2 separate regions of the Homo sapiens genome follow, and region 2 is linked to region 1. The links are contacts of gene promoters, found by promoter capture Hi-C in blood cells and fetal thymus (Javierre and others, 2016). All regions are on one chromosome and are shown on one strand. Each heading gives the region's core, a stretch centred on a gene start or on the middle of the fragment in contact. The rest is flanking DNA. Distances are from core to core; before and after follow the strand shown.

Region 1 (3,333 bases), core at 256-2,755:
GCACGTAGGGACTGGGCTGCAGGAGCAGTTTCTCCACCTCTGGGGCCAGGTCTCGGCACATCTCAGCAGAGCCCATGGTGCTCAAAGTGCACAAGGCCAGGCCTTGTACTGGCTGAATCCCCTGGCTCAGGTCACTGCAGGGTTTGGGAGGACGGTCAGTCAAACCTCTGAGAAAATCAGTCCTTTTCAATACCCACAACAGGCAGTCCCCTGGGATTTCCAAGGTCCCTACTCTCCCATCTCCCTGATTCCAAGTGATTGCCAGAACCCTCTCACTTCTTGATGCTGTTGGTAATGAGCAGGTGGGCATCGTGCCTCTCATCCAATAGAAGCATGGCCCCCAGGTAGCCCACCCTCTTGTCTGTGAATCTGGAGGAGGCGATCAGTTTCAGGCACTCCATCTATAGTGAAGGGGGCAGACCAGGAAGAGGCAGGGGTGAAACCATAGACACTCACATCCCTGTTCCATCTTCCTCTTTAAAACCAGATTAACCTGTGGGGCATCATATCTCATCACTCTCCCTTCAACAAGAGGAGAAGCTTAGGAAATTCAGGCGTTAGTGGGTAGGAGGAACTAGGAGTTGAGGAGGATGGGAGCGGAGAGGAGGAGATGCCTGCCCTAAAGGAGGCTGGCCAGAGAATGAAGGGTTCAGGCCAGCTGATGACCAGTAGGGGTAGCAATGGGGAAAGAGGTTTGCAGTGCAGGCTGTGAAGACTCTGAAATTGTAGAATTTAAAAAACCAGGGCATAAACAGGTGAGAGAGTCTGGGACTCTGCCCCACTAGCCTTCATCAAGCTCAGGAGGGAGGTATTCCTGGCCAGTACCTGTCCAAAGTGGGCGGGGTAGCCCAACATGTGGACGTAGAGCAGTTTGGCCAGCTGCCGGTGCCTGTGCACTGGGTCCCCGTCGCGGAAGGAGGCCCGGATGTGGGCACACTCCTTTTGGATCACCTCCCGCTCCTGGGCCTGAGTCTTGGCCCCGCGAATCTCTTCGATGAGGTCCTGAAGCTTCAGCGAAGGCACCACCATCCTGACTGGCAGAGTCCGGGAGTGGAGAAACACTCTCTGGTCGGGCGTGCCTGGGCTTTCGGCCCAGGCCCGTCCTGTGTCAAGACCCTAAGAGCCCGGGTCCCACAGGTACCCTAAAATTGCGCCCGCATTTTACCTTTCCCGAAGTGGGTCTCCAAATTCCGCGCCCACCCCACCGCCCGAGAAGCCCACTACGCATGCGTCCGCACCCCACCGGCGCCCCTTCCTATTGAGCATGCGCGGGAGCCCCACCTATTTCTCTCTACCGTTTCCTCCCCCTACCTGGTACCCCATCCCTAGCTCAGCCATTGCTTTTTTTTCCACGACCCTCCGCTGTTTCTTCCGCGAGCTTCCTCCCCCGATTTCCATCTCAGGCAGCGGCAGCGGCAGCGACAGCCTGCCTACCCCAGGACTCCAGCCTCACCTGGCTTCTGCCTCAACTCCGCTCCTCTGCCCCCCAGCGCTTCCTGGTACGGGGCCGAGCAGGGGTTGGTGCTCCGTGCGGTCCTTCCCTCTCCCCGCCTCCACCACGGGACCCCGCCCTCCTGGGCCGACTGCAGAGCCTTCCTGAATCCTCTGACCTCGGGCCTCAGGCTTTAGCGGAGAGACAGCATGATAGGCCTGGAGTTCTTCAAGAGGCCTCCTCGCACATCCTTACCACCCGGAGAGCCTCAGTTTGGATTTGAAGCCATCGCACCCCAAAGGAGATGACAATCCCCCCCCTTTTTTGAACTTTTTTATTAATATATTTTTTTTGTTAAATTTCTTTGTATTTTTTTCCTGCAAGACTTGGTGTTGGCGGCACTGTTGTAGTTTAACTTCAATCCCAAATTCCATGAAATAGAAATCAGAAGTAAAGGTTGAGAGGGGAGGAAGGAGGGAGGCAAGCCAAGGAATAAACAAGAGTTTGACTAGAAAAAAAGAAGAGGGTATGTGTGGTGGGCATTCCTGGGCAAGGCCATTCCTTGAGGGAGGGGGTTGGCAGGCAGCTTGCCTCTGCCTCATGCAGGGGAGGGAGGAAAGATCCCCTGGGGACCCTGCAGTCCCCTCTTCCTAGGGCTTCCTGCTCCCAGGGGAAAAACTAATACCAGAGAGGGATCAGCCACAACCTCAAACAGGGCTCTCCACCCACCTGTCACCCGGGTTTGACTCCCACCTCTGCCCTGCCTGGGAAGCATGTGAGATCAGCTATCTTTGATCCCCTCCTTCTGTTGTTTTCCCATTTCACAAGATTCTGATGTAAAGGGGGAAGGGATATAACCCATTTTGGGACTACTAAACTTGTCACAGCTTCTGCTTCCATGTGAGCTCCTGTTATCTTGTCTGGTCCTATCCCCCAGAAGTGCCTCCTCCCACCACAACTCCCAGAGTTGGGATGTGGGGGCCTTGCTCAAGTGCCTCTAACCCTCTGCAGTAGAAATGTCTTCTTCAGGCCCCTTAGGAATTTAATCAAAGGCCACAAGTGAGTCCAGACCAACCAAATAAACTATTATGGGGGAGACAGAAGGGTGGGAGAAGTCAGTGGCAAAGTCTGGGCAGGGTGGACTTGACTGCATTGGATATTCTCTGTTCCTTTACACGTTGCTCTTGGCATGGCATGCCACCAGAGGGGGCTGGAGGAGGGGCTGGCCGATGAGGAGAAAAAGAGGGAAATGCTGGGGAGTTACTCTACTTTTCACTTCCCTTCTCTCCTTCAGGGAAGGATGGAATTGGGCAGTAACCCAGCTCAGTGCTTGGAGGTAAGATAATAGCCTCCAAGATTAGAGGTGGAGGATGCACCTCCTGCAGCTTTTTCACTAGGCCTCAGAGGGACAGCAGGCCCCTTAGGCTAGGGAGCCACAGCAGCTCAGCCAGTGCCTTGCCCGACATTCAATCACTCCTTCTTCATTTTCTTCCTCCTCTCCATTCAGCTTCCAGGAGTCTCCTTAGGACACCAAACCCCCACCCGCAGCGAAGTTGAGGTCTAAAGAAAAGGTGGGAGGGCGTGGAGCAATGGTCTGACTTAGATTTGTGTGTCTCAGAGAAGACAGCAACTCTGAGAGAGAAAAGCCCTTCATATGTAAACAATCTAGAGAAAGAAGGGGTTGGGATGGGGAAGGGAGTGAGGAATACAGAGACAGATCCAGAAGAAATGAGATAATCTGAAAGAAGACAGGGAAAGAAAAAGCGAGAGAAAAAAACAAAGGAGCACAGAAAAGAAAGGAAGAAGAGAAAGAAAGATAGGAGAAAACACAGCCAGGAAGAGGAGAAGAGAAAAAAGGCAGGTCAAAGGGGTGAAGAGGCACGCAACCAAAGCCAGAACCA
Region 2 (3,333 bases), core at 561-3,060, 85 kb before region 1:
TCATCTTAGGGGACAGGGAAGAGAGTTTGACCAAGGTCTGTCTTTGCCTTAAAATCATTGTTTTGTTAGGATTTTATGAAGGCTTGGGGAAATGTCTATTGGGAATTCACAACAGTCTTCATAGATACCTTATTAGGAAAACTGTGTTTTGTTTGCAGGGGAGATTATTAGTGTGTCAATTTTCAGCACCATGGAGAGTTCAAACGCTCCTCATTCCTTGGTTTGGTGAATGGGACACAGCTAAACCATAGAGCTGCGTGGTGTAGACCTGCCCTTTTTCAGAGCCCAGTTTGTCCAGTCTCCAGTTCTGATTGGTACAGATTGGATGAGAGTCAAACACACCCCTGAGTGTCCCCCATCCTCCCTGGAATCTTTTAGGTCCATAAATCCCAGATTCATGCCAAGGATTTGGCTAACTTGATGGAGGTATGTGAGTGGAATCCTGCCTCCTGCTCCATTGGTAACATCATTTATCATTTATATTATGATACATGAAATTTTTACCAGCCCTTAAGAAAAACTCTGTTCCCTACTCATCTTTGCTTAGAGAACCTTGAGGGGACTTAAAGTTGCTTTTTCATTCCTTGGGCCTCGTTTTCTGCCTCTGCATGAGGAAAGGCATCAATGCTCTGGCTCTCTGCCCAGTCTTGCTTTTGTGTTTCTTTGATCTCATTGTTCAGAGGGTCTCAGAGAAGCCCCCAGAGCCATGCCTTTGCATGTTTAAGCTATTGATGCTTTTGAGATGACAGAGCGTCGCTGTGTAAGAAGTGTATTAAAGGTCTATCGTGAACAAACTTGGGTCAATAGGTGGCAGTAGTCACTGAGTCCTGAGGCCCTGACACCCCCTAAACACAAACACATTTGATGGCCATTATATTTAAGGAAGGATGTGAGAAAGGAGGTCACATTGAGATTAAAACGGGGAGAAAAGCAATCCTTTTTGGTGGAATCCAGGAAATGCTGAAATGTGCTGGATTACATCTGTGGGAGTGTTGTGTGGGGTGTAGGGGAAGATTGCTGTCAGCTAGTGAAGGGCACTGATTGGAAACAGCAGAGCCTCAGGATTGGGGGAACAGATTCATTCATCTAAGATGTAGGTGCTAAGGTTTCTTCCAGCTAGAGTAAGCATGTGTTAAATGAGGACCAGCACTGAAAGGACAGAGTGGGGTTGGAGTGAGTAGAGATACAAGTAGGGGAAGGAGGGGCAGAACTGTGTGACGGGACCGTGGAAAGGGTGGGCTGTGAAGGGGAGGACTGCGGTTAGAGGGGGAGGGGGAGGCTGCTGCAATACTGAGCCTATCTAATGGGGGAGGGGAGGGGGAGATATTGGTGTGTGCTGCAGCTGCATTACTTCCCCTCCCCCACACTTCCCAAGAAGCCAGAGCAGTGCTGGCAAATCTGTCTTCATGTATTTATTATTATTAAAAATGTGACAGATCCTTCCTCCCTGGAAGCACAACAAATACTACTGATCACATTTCTCTCTCCCCTCCCTCTGCAGAGCTTTTGCATTCTCTCTTTCATTCCACCCTGTCCTCCCCCACTTGGTCTGTTTGGTGGGGGGAACCCTTCCCTTCTTTCCTTCTTAGACCTTGGTGGCTCCCTGGGGGTTTCTAATGGTGGTTGGGAGTTTTGAGGCAGTGCTGGGAGGAAGCAGCTGAGTGAGGGGCATTCATGGCCCCAGGGAGGCAGCTGTATTCTCTTATATCCAGTGGGGAGAGGAAATCACTTGGAAATAAAGATAAAAATCCTTTCTCCAGGTAATGAAATAAGCAGGTGCTCACATTCCTTTCAGTACCTGGTGTTCCTCCCTCTTCATATTCTTCTCTTTTCTACTGCCTGAATTCTGAAGGGGAAACCCCCTTGTAATGGAAAAAGCCAGGAGTTCTCTGTCTTCCCTCCCTTACCTTAAGTCCCTCTCTTCCCAGGAAAGCCATATACTATTTATTCTTCTAGCCTGCATGTTGTGTAACCAAGAGATTTGAATGGCAAAAGCCATGGCTTCTTCCTCCCCACCTGCACCCCAGACTCCCATGCCTAGGCGGGAACCTCTTTTGTTGCAGCCTGTAGCCCTTCACCATACCCATAGGTGGTGCTGCTGTTGCTCTGCAGGCAGGGCCCTCCCGGCCAACATCATTCCTCCCCACCCTGTCGCCCTCCCCCTTTCCCCAGCCCTCTACTGCCTGATTGTTATTCCACCAACGTCTCCTCTACTGTTCCCTTCCTCAAATTAATTTTGTGGCGCTCTTTTTTCCGCAGTGCCATCTTCTTCCCCTCCCCCAGCTCCGGCTCTCTTGCTTTCTGTCTCTCTCTTTCTCTGTCTGCAGGATCTCCATCTCACTTCCCTACCTGAAATCTACACTCTTCCCTACTCCCTTTTTCGTTATCTGTTCTACCCCTGACATCTTACAGATGACTCTCCCAATGAAAGGGGGCTGTAGATGAGGGTGGCTTAGAAGAGAACAGGGTGAGGAGAACTGAGGGGTCAGTACCGAAGAGTAGGTGGGAGAATGACGAGGCTCTACAGGGGAAACATGATGGGAGACAGAAGATATCCTTTGCTGTCTGCATCTATTCAGTTCCTGGATTTGGATAAGGAGAGTTCACTTGGCAAGCGATCGATCCTGTGTTATCTGAATCTACAGATTTGGGTTCTACATGCTGGGAAAATGGGAGCTAGGGAATAGCAAGAATTCAGATAATAATGGCTCATCCAGAAACTTTTGGATTAGATTGCTAAGGATACCTCTACTTTCGTTATCCTGTGTTTTGAAGACTGGAGGAGATGTCCTGTTACTGATCTTTTGTGTCCTCAGAAGGTTCTTTCCAGGACAGTTGTGACACTTATGTGATGGACATCCTGGCTCTCTGGTCACTGCTGAGCACAATTCTGGCTGCAGGACCTTGGCTCACTCTTGTAGTCTGCCTCCTTTTTTTGTCATTCCATGTTGTTCCTTTATCACAGCTGAATTTACCTGGTTGCCCCATTCAGCCCACAGTGCCCTGTATTGCTTAGCCTTTCCAGAATATGCCCAAACTCTTTAGACTGTTAGCTCTTGCCTCATCTCGCTTCTTAACTTTATTTTGGAGACCTTTCATTGTGAGACCAGTACCCCACAACCAGCTAATTCAGCAGTGTTTTTTATTGTAAAGTTATCCAATTTCTAGGATGGCTAATTTTTCTCTTATTGGATTATTCTTTATGAATTAGTAGCATCCAGTTACTCCCTGGATGGTAGTGCTGAGTCTGACTTCTGTATATACTAGGAATAGGCCACAATATGGACCTCTTTCCTTGATTCCCTGGTGGGAGGAGATCTTCCTTAGCTTAAG

The links. The method cuts DNA at HindIII sites, captures the fragments that hold promoters and counts their contacts. A CHiCAGO score of 5 or more calls a contact.
Region 2: a contact is called between a fragment that was not itself captured here and the fragment with the promoter of AP1G2 in region 1, in 7 of 17 cell types (megakaryocytes, activated CD4 T cells, naive CD4 T cells and 4 more). The highest score is 6.4, in megakaryocytes.

Annotation. Positions count from the first base shown.
Region 1 is chr14:23,566,286-23,569,618 of GRCh38, forward strand. AP1G2 (adaptor related protein complex 1 subunit gamma 2) reads right to left here and starts at 1,506. Exons shown (of 22, transcript NM_003917.5): 1 at 1,454-1,506; 2 at 826-1,034; 3 at 277-401; 4 at 1-134. The coding sequence starts at 1,029. It overlaps JPH4 (junctophilin 4), which reads right to left. Exons shown (of 6, transcript NM_001146028.2): 6 at 1,753-3,333. It overlaps AP1G2-AS1 (AP1G2 antisense RNA 1), which reads left to right. Exons shown (of 4, transcript NR_110555.1): 3 at 1-1,137; 4 at 1,404-1,791. RefSeq lists enhancers at 719-808, 839-1,078 and silencers at 1,559-1,608, 2,598-2,697. The HindIII fragment of the contact is 3,957 bases long and covers 1,007-3,333 here.
Region 2 is chr14:23,481,356-23,484,688 of GRCh38, forward strand. No RefSeq gene overlaps it. Among named protein-coding and RNA genes, the nearest start is that of NGDN, 13 kb to the left of the region's middle. RefSeq lists enhancers at 716-1,473, 1,474-2,230. The HindIII fragment of the contact is 5,436 bases long and covers 1-3,333 here.